Linked DNA regions of Homo sapiens: regions 2, 3 and 4 are each linked to region 1. The links are contacts of gene promoters, found by promoter capture Hi-C in human tissues and cell types (Jung and others, 2019). All regions are on one chromosome and are shown on one strand. The core of a region is centred on a gene start or on the middle of the fragment in contact, and the rest is flanking DNA. Distances in the headings are between cores, read along the strand shown. Region 1 holds the start of GSTA5 (glutathione S-transferase alpha 5). Region 2 overlaps FBXO9 (F-box protein 9). Region 3 overlaps CILK1 (ciliogenesis associated kinase 1). Region 4 overlaps GSTA4 (glutathione S-transferase alpha 4).

Evidence for each region. Contacts are between HindIII fragments. The study calls those that stand out against the background at their distance.
Region 2: a fragment that was not itself captured here is called in contact with the fragment with the promoter of GSTA5 in region 1 in 1 of the 25 tissues and cell types used here (mesenchymal stem cells).
Region 3: a fragment that was not itself captured here is called in contact with the fragment with the promoter of GSTA5 in region 1 in 3 of the 25 tissues and cell types used here (lymphoblastoid cells, mesenchymal stem cells and thymus).
Region 4: a contact is called between a fragment that was not itself captured here and the fragment with the promoter of GSTA5 in region 1, in 1 of the 25 tissues and cell types used here (mesendoderm cells).

Annotation. Positions count from the first base shown.
Region 1 is chr6:52,838,168-52,842,548 of GRCh38, forward strand. It overlaps GSTA5 (glutathione S-transferase alpha 5), which reads right to left and starts at 2,646. Exons shown (of 6, transcript NM_153699.3): 1 at 2,560-2,646. The coding sequence starts at 2,646. The HindIII fragment of the contact is 18,057 bases long and covers 1-4,381 here.
Region 2 is chr6:53,071,125-53,075,505 of GRCh38, forward strand. It overlaps FBXO9 (F-box protein 9), which reads left to right. Exons shown (of 13, transcript NM_033480.3): 2 at 1-19; 3 at 2,357-2,515. Among named protein-coding and RNA genes, the nearest start is that of FBXO9, 7.9 kb to the left of the region's middle. The HindIII fragment of the contact is 5,649 bases long and covers 1-4,381 here.
Region 3 is chr6:53,004,130-53,008,510 of GRCh38, forward strand. It overlaps CILK1 (ciliogenesis associated kinase 1), which reads right to left. Exons shown (of 14, transcript NM_014920.5): 13 at 2,186-2,308; 14 at 1-1,174. The coding sequence ends at 1,020. Among named protein-coding and RNA genes, the nearest start is that of RN7SK, 11 kb to the left of the region's middle. The HindIII fragment of the contact is 6,922 bases long and covers 1-4,381 here.
Region 4 is chr6:52,980,858-52,985,238 of GRCh38, forward strand. It overlaps GSTA4 (glutathione S-transferase alpha 4), which reads right to left. Exons shown (of 7, transcript NM_001512.4): 5 at 3,607-3,748; 6 at 1,717-1,848. Among named protein-coding and RNA genes, the nearest start is that of GSTA4, 12 kb to the right of the region's middle. The HindIII fragment of the contact is 3,782 bases long and covers 146-3,927 here.

The sequences.
Region 1 (4,381 bases), core at 1,396-3,895:
AGGGTAAAATTCTCAATTTAATAAAGGAATTAGAGTCCCACACTAACATTATTTTTCATGAAAACCTCTGGTTTCTGATGTGGTTTTGTGGGTTCAATATCACCATTTTCATGTACTGTCTTCTTGACTTTGGACATGTTACCGAAACTCTCTGTGTCTGAGTATGCTAATCTATGAAATGGGTATACTTACGGCACCTATGGTATAGGCTGATATCAAGATTAAATTACAAGGTCATGCAAAGCACTTAGAAAAGTAGCAGGTGTATAGTAACTGCTCGTTAAATATAAGTTATGTTTAGAATTTTGAAACTATACTTAGTTCTTGATCTACATCCAGTAACTTAAACATTGGAGTAAATTCCACCTCATCCTGAGACAAGTCACTTTGGTGGAAATAGCAGCCAGCAACAAGGCTGTCTCAATCTGACCAGAAGCTATGAGTGGTTGCAGGTATTTAATACAGATATGAAATTCAGTTATTACATAATGATGCAGTTGACTTAAATAGGCAGAATCTATCAAACCAAAAGTCTAAGCAAAAGTTATCAAGGTTTTCTGGATTTCAATGTTGTTATGATCTGGTTCCAATCTTGACTCTGCCTCAAAATAGCTGTGTGATCTAGGAATTATTGCTTAAAATCTTCAAGCCTTAGATTCTTAATCTGCAAAATGGGAATATAATATTTTCTTAAATGGAATTTTGTAATGTTTCAAAATGCATGATACAGGGCCTGACCCACATACATCAAGTAATAAATAGTAGCGGTGTTTCCAGTGGCTAATTATACTTTAATGGAGTTCTTTATGGTGAAAGATCAGGAATTTGGGGGTTTCTGGCTTGCTCCATGGAACAGAATTTGTTGTGGATCTATGATCACACAGGACCAGGATCTAGAGGTCATGGGGGTGTGTGCCAGCAATTAATAAGGCATCCAGTTCAGGACAAACCTAAGGAACGGTGGGTGGTCCAGGAAGGAGGGTAGACAAGGTGGGGTGGGGTTGGCAAGTGGGATGTGAGGACTGGGTTGTGATCATCAGCCTTAGGGCGCTGAGACCCCAGAAGCCTGAGCAAGGTCTGCAGTCAGCCCTGCCCCCGCCTTCAGTCAGGCTGGATGGAGACCTGGGAACCTGGGTTCCTCCCAGCCTTGCCCCTCCCTCCCTCCTGCTGAACTCTTCCTACCCGGGCTCTGAACACATCCCTGAGCTGCAGAGCTGATGTCTGCGTGACAGTGAAACAGGGTATTCATTTGTACAAAGGAAACAACCTAGAATGATAGTGTTTGGATTTCTTATGTGCTTATTTCTTCATAGAACTGAGAAAGGGTGAGGCTAAAGTCCCAAGCCTTCGTGAAGCAACGCACAAAGTACCGTTCCGAGGCTCAGGTCCACACGGCGCTGTGAGGCTGAAGGGGCGCGCTAGAAGTTCCCTTCACAGGACGCCACCTCACCTGAAACCCCCCTTTTCTGCTGCCACCCGAGGGACAAGATCTCCTGAGTTTGTCCATGACTCACTTCCCAGGAAAACCCTCAGGCAGTCGCTGAAGGACTCTGGTCTGGACTGGGAAGTGTTTTTCTCAGTGACACCTCTAGAGGGCAGCACTCAGCGGAGTCCCACAGACACCTCCAGGCATTTCCTACTCAAACACTGGGAGGATGACCTGGTAACACTGGGGAATGCTTGGGTGTTCTAGAAGCCTCCACGCCTCATTTTAACCACGTGTTTACTTGTCTGCATCCTCATAGACATGTAGGCCGCCCCAGGGCAGGGACTGTGTCTGTCTTGTTCACTGTCTATCTCCATGACCTAGTACAGAACCTGGAATTAATAAGTGCTCAACAAATAATTGCTGTGAATGTAGTCAATCTTTAATAGGTAGTTTGTTACAATCCACTCCCTTACACCTCTCATTTATAGTTTGCATTTTACCTCTAACTACAGCCATTTTTAAATATTACGTATTTTCATTTTTTTGTTGTGGAAATTATGAACATGAATAAAAATAAACAGAAAAGCATAAAAATTCTCCTTATATTTCTCACCTAGAATCAATAATTATCAACCAAAACCAATGTGAAGTTATATTTATGCCCACCTACTTCTCCTTTTGTAATAATTCCAAAGAAATCCCAGATCCATATGATTAATCCTTAAATACTTCAATGTGTTTTCCTAAAACACATAAACTGTTCTAAAGATAACCATAGTACATTATCACACATGAAATATTAACAATAATTATTTCATGTCATCAAATATTCAGTCAATATCCAAGTTTCTAATGCCATAAATTATTTTTTACAGTTTGTTTAAATTCTAATCCACTTAAGTTCTACACTTTTTGATTAGTTTCTTAATTGTATTTTAATATGTATGCTCTTAGATAAGAAGAAATTTTAACAATTTTTAGGTCAAATCTATTCATCTTTTTCTTAATTACAGTCCATTTTTATTTAAGGCACAATGCTTCAGTAAGTAATCATTGCATAGTTTCTGTGGGAAAAGTATGTGATAACGCAATTTTAAATCCAACTTAAGATGACCTTACTCAGAACCTACCTCTACTCCAGCTGCAGCCAGGAGCCACCGAATGGACTCCATACTGCCCCGTGCATTGGAGTAGTGGAGCTTGGGCTTCTCTGCCATGATAGCAGTCTCCTGGAGGTTTCTCTAAGCCTGAATGAATGAATGAATAATTGAAACGATAGAATCAAAAATGTACTTTAGGATGTGTGGTTGAAAACCACAAACAATGCTGAAGAAGAACCTGCCTTCTTCATGACTGGGTTGAAGGAGTTCCTGGAATGTTTTCTTGGCTCAAATTGTTACCCAGCAGTGGCCACCCTCAAACCAGTCTCAAGTCTTCATTGTTTACCTGTGACTTTTCTTGGCAGCCTAAGAGGTGAGAGTATGTGGTAATAATACATGTACAGGAGTTAATGGAAGGGGAAGAATTCAAGAACTAATATTTATTGAAAACTTCCTCATGATCCTTCCTCAATGCTAGTCCCTTTCAATATTTTATATCTTTAACCCTCCTTATAGTCTCATTAAATGGTTGTTTTCTCCAATTTTTAGTTAATGAAATCGAACATCAGAGAAATACAATGTTCACAGTCACACTCTGGTTGGTGATGGACATGAATATCTACACCAAGGACTAAAATGAAGTCACGCCTGGAAGACATCTGGGTGAAGGCCCTGGGAACCCATGAACTGGTTGTGAAACCAGAGGATGTCACTGACAGGGAGGACCGGCAGGGAGCTAAGTCACTCTTCAGCTCTCTGGCTGTGAGACTGCATTTGATCAAAACCAGAAATTAGGCTTCAGACTTGTTTTACTGTAGCTAGAAGATCCAAAGTCTTTCAACAGAGAATGCTAATACCTTGCTTCTTTTGGTGTTCTATATTTTAACTCTGTGGGGGGCATTTTGTTTTATAACCTGGCAAAAGAGATGTTGCTGCATTAACTTTGCAGGATATGGAAGGAGCTAGCATTTGTTCAACGTCAGTCATACACTGGCCATTCTTCTAAACTTCTCTCATTTTGTCCTACAAAAATCACCTAAGGTGAAAGGCTGTTGCTATTCTCATTTTACAGTTGAGGATACTGAGGTTTTTAAAGTAACTTACCCAGATTAAGTGGTGGATCTGGGATGCAGACTCACTGCTATTAAAAACTAAAGACTGAGTCTTATTTTCTATGTTAATGTTTCTCAAATATGCATGGTAATCTTTCAGTAGATTGTGAAACCCCAGTACTTTTTAAAATAAAATAGAAAAGAATAAAAATATCAGTGAGCATGACATGTTGAAGGGTAAGTAATGTTTCATGAGTTGTTAGTTTCAGTTATTTGTATATTGTGTGTATGGATGTTTGCATGTGTGCACGCTCACCTGCTTGTTGTAAATGGTTAGAGAGAAATTGACTGGGCTCATCAGTGAAGTTTGATAGCCCTTGCTCTATCCCAGGCTGTTTGGGAGGTGGAACATAGCAGAGTATCAGAGAATGAAAACCAATGGCTGCAAGGACAGATGCAACTAATTGTATCATGAATGTGAATGGAAGGACACAGGACTCATTGAAAGCAGGAGTTCCAGTGCCAGGACTTAGGAACAGTTGCATATTCTCTCCAAACCCCCAGCTCTGTGATTAAACATTAAGATTCTTCTTGCAAAGTTTTGTGGTTGTTGAGTTTAGAAGAAAAATATACTTGCCTTTAACAACTAATGTATTTCTTTTTTTTTTTTTTTTGAGATGGAGTTTTACTGTTTTTTTCCCAGGCTAGAGTGCTATGGTGCAATCTCAGCTCATGCAACTTTAGCCTCCCAGTTTCAAGTGATTCTCCTGCCTCAGCCTCCCAAGTAGCTTGGATTACCA
Region 2 (4,381 bases), core at 1,305-3,804, 230 kb after region 1:
TGCTGAAACAGATCTGCAGGCATGTTTCTTCAATTGTGTCTTTGATTTTTATTCCATTGTTCCCATACATATGCAGAAATTGATCATAATCATGGGTATTTGTAGGTTATTACTGTTTGCATGGAATTTAACTGTTTCCATACTGGTTTATAGAATACTTAAAACTATGTTATGGCTTTCTTTGTGAAAAGAAATATCAATAATGGTTGCTTGTAGTTTAACATGGGTTTAAAGTATTCAAACTAAGGCTTACGCATGACTCAAAACCCATAATCTTAAAAAGATTGATGGGTTTGACCACCTAAAAGTTTAAAACCTGTGTATAAGAAAAGGCATCATAAATAAAGTTAAGAGAAATAGCCAGCTGGAAAAACTGTTTATTATATATGGGCAGAGGATTCATCTCATTACATAGAGCACTCATATATTTGGAAGAACAGAGGATAAAAAGATATGAGTGGACTGTTAATGGCAAAATAATACAAATGGCCATTAAATATTTGAAGAGATAATTAGCCTCATTAATAATTTAATCAGATTGGTGAATAATGTGCATCGCTGTCCAAGCTGTGAGAACACTCATGCAGTGTACATGAAAATGTAAATTGGTACAGCTTTCTGGAGGGCAGACTGGTGATATGGATCAAAATGAAAAACATGCATTCCCTTGATACAGCAATTCTACTTCCAGGAAATTAATTTTAAGGAAATAGTGGGGAAAGTAAATATGCAACTATAAAGATGTTTAGTATAGCATTGTTTATCTGGAAAAACATCATACAACTTAAATATTCATTACCTGTTATTAAGTAATGATGCATCCATACAGTGAAAACACTACAGCCATTTAAAAGGATGAAGTAAATCTTTATACATTAAAAGAGAAAAAAAGTTGCTGTAACTAGTTAAGTGTGTCTCACTGCACTTGTAAGGTTAATAATAATTATTTGGAACAGCTCATCTAGTAGACATTGAATGCTGCTAAAGATTCTGCAGGTCAGAGATCTATGTGTAACAGGTTAAAAGCGTAGCAACAAAGCAGTGTACAGAATATAGAGAAAAATTAATTTAAAACATTCTAGATACGTCTTTTTTTAAAAAAAAAAAAGGAAGCCAGGAATAACATATGCATCCCTGTTAGCAATGGCTGCCTTTGGGCAGAACGTGTAACCCAGTTTGGGTTCCCCAGGAAGCAGACTAGGTGAAGATTGCTGTGCAGGAAGTTTATTAAGGAGTATTCTTGGGATCAACACCTATGGAAGGGAGAGAGGGAAACAAATGGGCAGGGAGAAGACCAGCTGCAATGCAGTCTTAATGGACTGCTTAGCCATCCTCGAGGGAGTTCTGAAGATGAAATACCCTTTCAGAGATGACCTGAGTTGCAAAGAGCCAAGACTTTATTAGCCGTTGATCAGTCATTGGGTGGGGATTGAGAGGACAGTGTGATTTTGCTGAGGCAATACCCAAAAGGGCTGACAACTCAAGTGTTTTCAGATAGAACTCTCAGCAGTTTGGGTAACAAGTTCTTTATTTCTGAAAGGGAATCTGGGCAACACACCAGAGTCTACCTTATAGGGTTCACTTTTTATGTGCTTTTAATTTTTTTTTTTTTTGAGATGGAGTCTCGCTCCATTGCCCAGGCTGGAGTGCAGTAGCACGATCTCTGCTGACTGCCAACCTCTGCCACCCGAGTTCAAGCAATTCTCATGGCTCAGCCTCCCAAGTAGCTGGGATTACAGGTGCCCGCCACCACACCTGGCTAATTTGTTTGTATTTTTAGTAGAGACAGGGTTTCACCATGTTGGCCGGGCTGTTCTCGAACTCCTGACCTCAGGTGATCCGTCTGCCTCGGCCTCCCAAAGTGCTGGGATTATAGGCATGAGCCTCTGTGCCTGGCCTTTACATTTTTGAAATAACAAATATTTGAAAAAACATTTTCTTTTTGAAATACAGAATGTTAATAGATTTTGGGCTTACCTACAGAATTTTTGGCAGCATTCTTAATGTCTACTAGATGATATAGTCATTAAAAAATTATTGGAAGCTTATAACTTCAGTCTGTAAGTGATGGCTTATATTTTCAATTCTAATTAAAATTTGGTTTTCCAATATAATTTGACTTTTGGTGTACTGACATGTATTTTATGCTAATTTTCTTGATTCTTTAAGTTTTGAGCAGAAAATTATTTTAAAAGATGTATTTAATGGATATTTAATAATTCAGAAGACAGTGATTTCTGGACTTAGAGTAATAAGTATATACGTGGAAGTAGATAGATGTTGGACATATTGATACATTGTTCCAGAGTTGAGCTACCCTTCCTTGATGAGTCCTAAAATGCTGTTCTCCCCATAGGCACAACTCCAGATGTTCCGAGCTCAGTGGATGTTTGAACTTGCTCCAGGTGTAAGCTCTAGCAATTTAGAAAATCGACCTTGCAGAGCAGCAAGAGGCTCTCTCCAGAAAACATCGGCAGATACCAAAGGAAAACAAGAACAGGCAAAAGAAGAAAAGTTAAGTATTATAGATATTGTAACAAATTACATTTTTTTTTTTTTGGCACATGGAAATTTTCACTGACACAGTAAGTAGGCATTATAACCAGACTTTCGGGACATAAACACATATCTTGTAAAATAAAAATTTTGACTAGTATACTAGTTTATATATTTCTCACAATTTCTTCTAGGTACTTTGGATGGTACCACTACTCCTGCATGGCTTTTTTCTCTGTGGGTACACTGTCTTCATTGAGCTGTCTTTTGTTAATTTATAGACCTCTGGGATTCATGTGGTTCCTAAAAGATTGGTGTCTCTGAATTTATTAACAGAACCAAAAAGAAAAAACAGAATTTTCTAAATTTATTAATAGAACCAAAAAGATTGCTCACATGTTAATGTCTTTCCAGAGGTCTTAATTTCATGCAGTATTTTGTTATATTTTGAATTGATCAGCTTACAATAATGCATTAATCATTTCCTTATTCTGGAAAATTTTGAAATATTTTCACACTGAAAATATTTTGAATGCTGTCTAACATTCATATCTCTTCTGGTACTTACTCACACAGAGTAGGCACAGCATACCATTTCATTTCTTATTCTTCTTCCATAGAGGCTGCCATCTTTTTACCATCAGATCCAAGTTTGTGTTTATAATTAGTCATCAAATAATTGGCATTACCATGATGACTTACCTTCTATCTCCTCTTAATTTTTATTTTGAAATAATTACAGGTCCACAGGTATAGGGAAGTCCTGTGTGCCCTTTAACCTCCTCCGATGGTAACAACTTGCATAACTATAGTACAATATCAAAAACGAGGAAATAGACATTGGAACAATCCACAGTTTACTTGGATTTCCTGAGTTTACAAGCACTTGTCTGTGTGTATGTGTATAAATAGTTGTTTGCAGTTTTATTACAAGGTAGCTTCATGTAACCACCACCACAATCAAGATACAGAACTGTTTTATAGTTATATACTCCCTTTCCCTAGCCATTCGTAACCACTGGCAACCACTAGTCTGTTCTCCATTTTGTAATTTTGATATTCCAAGAATGTTGTATAAGTGGAATCATCCAGTATGTAACCTTTTGAGATTGGCTTTTTTCACTAAGTATAATTCCCTCAAGATCAGTCCAAGTTACTATGTATCAGTAGTTTGTTCCTTTTTATTGCAGAATAGTATTGCATGGTATGGATGTACCCCAGTTTAACCATTTATTGGTTGAAGGACATTTGAGTTGTTTCCAATATTTGGCTGTTATGAATGGAGCTATGGAAATATGTGTGTAGGTTTTCTCATGAACATAATTTTCACTTCTCTGGGATGAAACCCCAAGAGTACAATTGCTAAGTTCTATAGTAAGTACATGTTTGATTTTAAAAGAAACTGCCAAAGTGTTTTCTAGAGTATCTTATATTAAGTTCCCACCAGCAATGTATGAGTGATCCAGTTCATCCTCATCAGCATTTAGTGTTGCTACTTTTTAATTTAATTTAATTAATTTATTTATTTATTTTAAGACAGAGTCTCACTTTGTCGCCCAGGCTGGAGTGCAGTGGTGTGATTCCAGCTCACTGCAACCTCTGCCTCCCGGGTTCAAGCGATTCTCGTGCCTTGGCCTCCCAAATAGCTGGGATTACAGGCCCCGTCAGTAACGCTGGGCTAATTTTTGTATTTTTACAAATTTGTATTTTGTATCTAGAATGCAAAAAGAACTTCCAAAACACAATATTAAAAATATTAGCAATCTAGCTGGGTGCGGTGGCTCACTTCTGTAATCCCAGCACTTTGGGAGCCTGGGGTTTCACCATGTTGGTCAGGCTTGTCTCGAACTCCTGACCTCAAGCAGTCTACCTGCTTCAGCCTCCC
Region 3 (4,381 bases), core at 838-3,337, 170 kb after region 1:
CCAAATTGTCCTGAGAATTTGGCTAGGACAGAACATTAGTCATTGACTGCTCCTAGCCAGATCTGGAGAACTGAGCTAGGCACAAAATTCCATCTCAGTTACTATAATCAAAAACCTTCTGCTGCTTTGATACTTAGTTTTTTGGCCATGCATCTTGGCAGGAATGTAAGTTTGATTGACTGTGTTAACCTTCATGTTGAGAGCCTTTTGAAGCAGAAATCTCTTTTATTGGTACACATACAACTTGATTTCAAAAATGGAATAAATTAGAATATAATGGCATAGTATAATTAAGCTTGGTTTCATCTGAGATCTGCAACCACATTAAAGGGTGTCAGAAAAATTTTTTAAAATGTATTTACTTAGAGTTCTTTCATCTGGGGAACAAAAGTAAAACAAAGTGAATTATATAATATAATAGTCCTTTTAGAACAGCAGAGTGGTATCCAAAAATCAAACCAATGACCTACTAAGAAAAGCAGAGGATCACTTTTCTAACAACAGTCCAAGAAGGCCTGAAGTACCTAGTGAGCCACACTTGAAATTTCACCACTTCATAAATATCTGCACACACTGAGTAAATAACCCTCTATCACATAGCCTTAAATTGCACCCCTGTTGCAATACTGCATTAATATTATTACATTTTTCAAAATCTGTAGAAAATATTATCTGGAACCCCAAAGGAAAATCAATTAATTTTTAAAAAGTTCATTACAAAGTTGACTGTATAAAATGCTAAAACATAATCCATATATACAAAATGCTGTTGTTTAAGAAAATAATGGGACCCAGTTTTAGAATAAAATAATTTTATACAAAAAAGCCTACTGCATTCAAATCAATATTTTAAAAAAAAACTTTAAAAAAGAATATTGACATGTCTTAGTTCAGAAGAATAACTATAAAGTGTTGATTTGCTTTTATGCCCTCTGCACATCTTGCAGGTAGAACACCAGTCAGCTGAGGGAAAGTATCCTGCTTCTCCCTAGGAAGAGATTCATCACCAAGGCAGACAGTCATCGCCGAGATGCGTACTTGGAAGCCCAGTCTGTCCGGCCATGCACTGGCTGGGCGGCTGGAGGCCGTGGTATCAACCCAGGAGTGCTTCTAGGCTGGGTGTGGAAGAATGGTCGCCCAGGATGAGGTCTCATGGCCTTCAGGGAGGAATAACCTGCAATGAAAGAAAAAGGCCGGCATGACTGATATGGGGCCAATGTAAGCAAAGTACAAATAAATGCATTTTGGTGACAAAAACATGAGAAAATAAGGAGTTCAAGAGGAGCATCTTGTCTCCTACTTATAATCTTCTCTACTGCAGTTAAAGACATCGTTTTAAAGTTGTCAGGCCAAAAATAATGGCATCATTCTTGACCCCTCTTTTTTTCATATACCACATATAATTTGTCAGGATATCCTATTAGTTCTACCTTCCAAATATTTACAGAACCTGGCAACTTTTTACCAACTGAACTACTACCACGCTGGCCCAAGCTAGCATCATTTCTTACCTGGATAATTTCAACATCCTCCTAATTGGATTCCCTGCTTCCTACCTTGCCCCTACTTCAGTCTCATGACAACAGCAGCTTGAGGGAGCCTGTGGAGATGGCTGTCAGATCACCTCACTTATGGACTCAAAGCCCTCCAGGGACTCCACGTCACTCAGAATCCATGACAATGTGCTTACAGGCATCGTATCACCCCTGACCTCATCTTGCTACTCCCCCTCTCACTCCTGTCACTCCCACACTCTGGCCTCCTTGCTGCTCCTTGAATTTGCCAGGCCAGTTCTGCCTGAAAGCTCAAGCACAGAACAATCTCCTGTCTGGAAAAGCCTCACTCATACTGTATGCTTGCTCAATCACCTCCTCCAGGTCTCTACTCAACAACTCCTTTGCAGTGAGCTCTTCTTTAGCTACTCTATCTAAAATTGTAACCTGTACCCCACACTCCAACCCCCACAATCCCTACCTCCTGTCTGCTGTATTTTTCTCCTTAGCACTAAGTCAGTAAGCATCTGACTTACTATATGTTATATAGCACTTATTTAGCTTACTTATTGTCTGTAGAGTGCAAGTTTCATTTATTGGTGGATCCCAGGCCTAAAACATGCCTGGCACAAAGCAGTTGTTGAGTAACCATTTGTTGAGTAAATTCATGAATAATTTAAAATACAACTCACCAGGGGAAGGGTCTGGAATAGGTGCTAGGTGTACCCTCTGCATAGCAGAACCGATTTCTTTTTTCAGAAAGGAAGGGACATAGTTTCCAGTCAGTCCACTAGAACTTGTAGAGCTGGAACCAACTGATTTGCAAAAGCAAAAAGCTCATTATTACAAAGACATGTACCCAGGACACCAACAAGGTTAAATGACAGCACTGCAGAGCAATAACAAACTAAGTTTTTACTTTTAGGGAAAAGAGCAAATCATGATAAAAATGAGTTCAGAGCCAAGCATCCCACCATACTACCCTGTCAGAAAGACTGCGGGGGCCAAAGACAGTGCTGCTCCTGTGAGGGGCAACCAAATAGAGGGTGGGTTGGTTGTGAAATTTTTTTAAAAAAGGGAAATATGACATTTGTTCTTTATTTTCTTTTGTAAAAGTAGATTTAGACTATTCTAAAATTTGCTTTTTTCACTCCATAATATAGAATAGTTATCCTTCCATGTGAGTACATATAAATTCTAGAGTATGGCTAAACCATAATCCATTTAACCATTTTCTTATTGATCAACACACAGGTTATATTAAATTATTTAGCTGTGACAAGTAATTACACACTAAATATTCTTATCCACATCAGAAAAATTAACCATTTTTTACAATGTGAAATACCTTAACTTTTTATGTCATTTCCACTTGGGAGTGCTTTAAGGGCAGGGACTGTATGCTACTCGTCTTGGTATTCTGGGGAGGATAACAGAATGCCTTGCATATAGCAGATAATCAATTAATTTTGGATGGGTGAATGAATATAATTCTTATTATTTAGGCTTAAAGGTACACATGGAATAATGAAGACTGTTATTATTGCCCGTTATAGAAATGGAAATTCTAACCATTAAGAAAAGTCAGTAAGTAGTAGAGTTGCTCTGTTTTCACAACACAGAGCTTTTTCAGCAATTGTTTAAGGCAGAGTGGAAACACAGTCTAGAATGCCTGCGTGAGGAGTTGCGTTGGTCAGCTGGGGTGTATTTTGTACTTTGGTGAATGAAGAAACATGAAGAAAAATGGGAAGAGAATTTGAACAGGTAAGTCACAAAAGAGAAAAAACTTATAGTCAATAAACACAAGAAAAGATGATGAACCTCATTAGTAAATAGGACATGCAAGTTTAAACCACAATAGGATACCATTTCTCACTCATCAGATTAGCACAAATTTTAGTCTTGACAGTACCAAGTGGCATCAAGGATGCAGAGCAACTCCCATATCCCGCTGGAGAGCAAGTAGTTTGGCAATATCTGTGAAGTTGAAGATGAGCACACCCTTTAACCTAAAATGTTGACTCTGGCTGGGCATGGTGGCTCACACTTGTAATCCCAGCACAATGGGAGACCCAGGCGGGTGGATCACCTGAGGTCAGGAGTTCGAGACCAGCCTGGCCAACATGGTGAAACCCTGTTTCTACTAAAAATACAAAAAAAAAAAAAAATTAGCTGGGTGTGGTGGCACATGCCTGTAATCCTAGCTACTTGGGAGGCTGAGGCAGGAGAATTGCTTGAACCAGGGAGGCAGAGGTTGCAGTGAGCCGAGATCATGCCACTGCACTCCAGCCTGGGCAACAGAGCAAGACTGCGTCTTAAAATAAATAAATAAATAAAAATAAATAAATAAAATAAAATAAAATAAAATAAAATGTTGACTCCTAGTTCTCGTACCCAGAGGAATCCTCACACATGTGCATAACAATAGGGGTACAATAATCATCTCAGCACTCTTTCTAATAGCAAAAATTGCAATCAACTTATGTATTTATCAAGAAGAGAAGGCATACATAAATTATGGTCCACATAAATAATAAGTTATGGTGTTGTATAGATATATATTGTATATGTTATATAATATATGATATATATCTCTATAATTGCTACACATATATTTATTAAAATGCATGAAGCAGTGATCCAAGATTATCTTCACATAAATTTTAAAACCTGCAAAACCACACTATGAAGTTTATACAAACCTAAATAAACACTCGATCAGGCTGGCATGGGGGGAGGTAAGGGGAAGCAGGGAGGCGGGAAAGGCACAGACACTGGGCTTCATGTGTATTTGCCAAGTTCAACTTTTTTTTTTTTTTTTGAGACAGAATCTCACTCTATCACCCAGGTTGGAGTGCAGTGGCGCAATCTTGGCTCACTGCAACCTC
Region 4 (4,381 bases), core at 787-3,286, 140 kb after region 1:
ATCTCCTAGGGTTATTGGGGTGGGGTTGACGGGACAGATGAGCAAATGCATGTAAGTGCCTAGCAGACTGACTGGAATGAAGCTGGCACTCAACAAGTTGCAGATCCCTTCCTCTAATTTCCCTTCTCTGCTAAACAAGTAACTTTTTTAACAGTGCAAAAGAATACTTCAGGTGAAAAGTATCCTAAGTTCTGAATGAATAAAATCAAATTAAGGAAAGTCAATCTCTGTGTCTGCAAAAGTAAATGAAAAAAAAATTGAAAAAAAAATATAAACTATAACATAAATGATATGGTGGTTTATTGCCTTGTTGAAGATTTTTATTCTCATTTTCTGGGTGTACTTATTGAACTGGTGGTAATTGCTCTCATTAGTATATCAAAATATTTAATAGACTTGGCAAAAAATTGTTTTAAGTATGTGTGTTACTCTTTGGAGAGTTAGTGTATCTCTCTTGGCTTTTGATAACTTGGTCAAACATATAGCAATTTGGTCTGTATCCAGGCTGTTTCAGGGATTGGCAAGCTTTTTCCATAAAGGACCAGTCAGCAAATATTTTAAGTTCTGCAGGCCATATGGTCTCTATCAGATCTACTCAACTCTGCTGTAGAAAAACAAAAGTAACCTTGACATTGTGTAAATGAGTGGGCATGGCTTTGTACCAATGAAATTTATGAATACTAGAATTTGAATTTCATATAATTTTTATGTGTCATGAAATATTATTCCACAGATTTTTTTCAACCATTTAAAAATGTAAAAATTATTCTTAACTCACAAGCTGTATAAAAACAGGTGGCAGGCCAGGTTTGGCCCAGGAGTTACAGTCTGCACATTAGACTTGGAGATAAAAGGCTAAGGTTCTAGATAAAACTCAAGCATCCACTGCCTAAGCCAGCTTGGCTGCTGATTTCTTTATTCTGGGTCTCTACTTCCTCAAGTGAATATTGAAGTCATTAAATGAGTTTTTTTTTAAAGGCCCTTCTCTCCTTTAAAGTTCTATGATCAATCCTGCCAGAATAACCCTGAGGGATAATTTGAACCACACAAGTCTTTCCTTGGAATTCTCAGAAGGAGAATGGTAGGAATCCTTTGGGGTGATGTTTAGGGTGCTAACATCTCTCATTTGCTCTCAGAGCTCAGGCTTAGAATTTCCTAACTTGAGACCATACTATTTCTGAGAAAGGGAGTCATAGCCTGATGAATGAGACTGTTTTGATGTTTATCTCGCCCACTATTCCATCAGTAGATACATGTGAGTGTGAGACCACCTCATCTCTATGGTTATTTCTATGGAAAGTCCCCTGAGGCAAACTCCCTGTGCATGGAGTTTTTTCCAGGAGTGCAGTTATGGAACAAAATTAAGATGAAAATTTCTGAGCTGGGTGTGCTGGCACATGCCTATAGTCCCTGCTACTCAGGAGACTGAGGTGGGAGGATCTCTTGAGCCCAGGAGTTCAAGACCATTCTGGGCAACATAGTAAGATCCCACCTTAAAAAAAAAAAATTTTACACTTCAATGATCTTTCAACTTGAAGGATTTAAGGACCAGAAAAATAACTTTGGGTCCTTACTTTCATTTCATTTGCCAAACTAGAATCTTAAAAATATTACACATACACACACACACACACTCCCCAAAGCCAACCAAACAATAGACACTGAAGGAAGGCCCAAGAGTTCTAGGCCAATCTTCTAATACATAGTTTTATTTACCTGGAGGAAAGGAAATGCAGACAGGATATTAGGAATTTTCTCTTCTAGAGCTAAAATGGTTTGGAGTAAAATCACATCTGCAAGGCTCAGCTGATTACCAACAAGAAAGCTTTGTCCGTGACCCCTTAAAATCTGTAGGGAAATGGTGTGCATCAGTTACAATATTCCACATGGAGAGAGTGATGAGGCTATTGAATCAGTGCAGTATCTGAGAAGAGGTGAAACTATGACCTTGTCATTTCATGCTTTCATAAATAACATCAATTAAGAGAACGCACCCTATATCTGACAGAGAGAGTGAGAGAGAGGGGGAGAGAGAGAGAGAGAGAGCGAGAGAGAGAGAGAGAAAGTACAAAAAAGGTGTGGAAATGAAAGCATCCTTAAATATCTGCTGTGGATCTGAATGAGACATTGAAGTGGGGAAGGGAAAATTCCTTATTTCTGGATTTAGCATCTGGTGTTTTGAAAGGATATATCTACTCCAAAAATGTATCTACAGAAATGCATGCAGGAGGCTTGGGGAGGGGCAGGGTGATTTAAGAAATCTAAGTGATAGATCATCTTCAAGGGGCCCACTCTTATTTCCCAGTTCTGCTGCTAGAACATCAAGAGGTGTAGTCATAAACTCAACCCAATTATAAAATTAGACTTCCTCTTACATGTCCCAAAACAGAGAAAATGAAAAGCTTGAGTTCATCTTGACTCCCATTCTGAGGGTAACGTATAGGTGTGGGGCTTATAAGAATAGATTGTGATTAGGGAGAGGCAAGAAGCAGTAGTAGCAAAGGGGAGATCCCCTTCACAGTCAACTCTTGGATGCCCATGGGTGTCTGCATGTGCACAAGTGTGTGTGTCACAGGGACTCCGAACACAATTCCAGGTCAAATATAGCTACTGGAGCCAGAGTGGCATAGTACAATGCATCCTGAATTTGTAGTCAGAGGCCAGAGTTCCAACCCTGCTCTCCATTTTCTGGCCATGTTACCTTGGACAGGTCACTGAATCTCTTCATGACTTCATTTCATTATGTGTAAAAGGGACAACGGTTCTCACCTCATAGGCGTGTTGCAAGAAACCCTGACACAGTCTGGGCCCTTGGGACCTAAGAATGAGCAGTGAACCTTTGCCAAAGCACCAGGTCCTCTGTGCCCGTTCCAGACCACATTTCTTCATTATCCTATTTTACATTCACAAAGTGCCTGTGGGAAAGATACCATAAAACCTAGCTACAGAAACCCCAGAAAATACCTCTCCTTTTTCCTAAATCTAGTTCCATAAAGATGGTCAGAGGAAGCTTGCCAAATAGGTCTTCCCATATTTTCACACCCTCTTCTTTAGTGTTTGCATTGAAACACTAAAAAAGTTCCTCCCAGTTCAGGAATAAAGAATTTGAAGCTCAGAAAAGCAGATATAACAAGAAGAGAAAAACAACAAAACCAAAAACAAAAAGAGCAAAGGGAAGATAAATAAAATGGAAATGGTTCTTCTACTCATATCGAATTATCAGGGAGGATGTCAGCTGAGACAGCTGTTCGACAACTTTTGTTGAATGAATGAATGAGGTAGTTTTTGTTTTCTGTATCTTCTGAAGTTTCTGCTGTATCCACACAAGGTGGGAACTTGGTGAATGCAAGGAACAATAAGGAACAAAGGCAGGGAGCCCATACTTTTTCTAGACTTCTGAATCATGTGGTCCTAGCAGAGTCCAAGGGGCTCTAAGACACCAGCTTTGTGCTGTGGCTACTATTCGCTCTTAGGAGTCCATTAGCGCTTAGGTTAGTTCAACTGGGCTCAGTTTTAAAATCCTTGGACAGAAAAGGGTGTTTGTGGCAGCTTCTTTGTGGTTTGTGGTTTGGTTGCTCTGTGTATGTAGGCATCTCTGCCACCTACCTTTTCAAACACAGGAAAGTATCTAATTATAGCCTTCTGGGCCATGTTAACCACTTCCTTTTGCTGATCATCTGGTTTTAAGAAAGGATGCATGATAAGCAGTTCCAGCAGATCCAGTGTCCCCTCCACGTACATGTCAATCCTTAAAACAAAAAAGCAGTTGTCTCAGTTTCTCCTCTCTTTGAAGCCATCAGTTTCCACAACTAAGAATTCAGAGTGCTTTTTTTTTTTTTTTTAAAGATGCTGCAACTTAAGTCCCTAGAAGCATTTACCTATACCTGTCTCTTAAGAGCAAAGATATAAGGTCAATTCTAGTTGTAACTCAGAAAAATCTGTCACAGATCAGACAGCTTGACAGTCATGAGTGCTCTCTCTCCTGGCATCCTACTCCTCCACTTTTACCCCAGCATCCATGTTTTGGTCTCTTCGTATGGGTCAAACTTCAACTTTATAAAAATAGTGAATACCACTTATTGAGTGCTTAGAGTGTACCAGGCATGGTGCTAAACACTCTCTATCCATTATCTCATTAAATCACATGACACTATGAGAAATGTACTATTCTTATACCCACGTTGCCCAGGGTCATACATCTAAGGGGTGCAAGGACCAGGCTTTGATTTCAAATTATAATCTAATGCTCACTCTCCCAGGCCTTGAATGTCACAGCAGCTCCTCATTCCTAATACTTAACAATAGTGAATGTGCAAGAAAGGGAAAAAGCAGTATCAAAGCATTTAAAAATGTTGAAATCTGAAACAATGACACCCTAGAT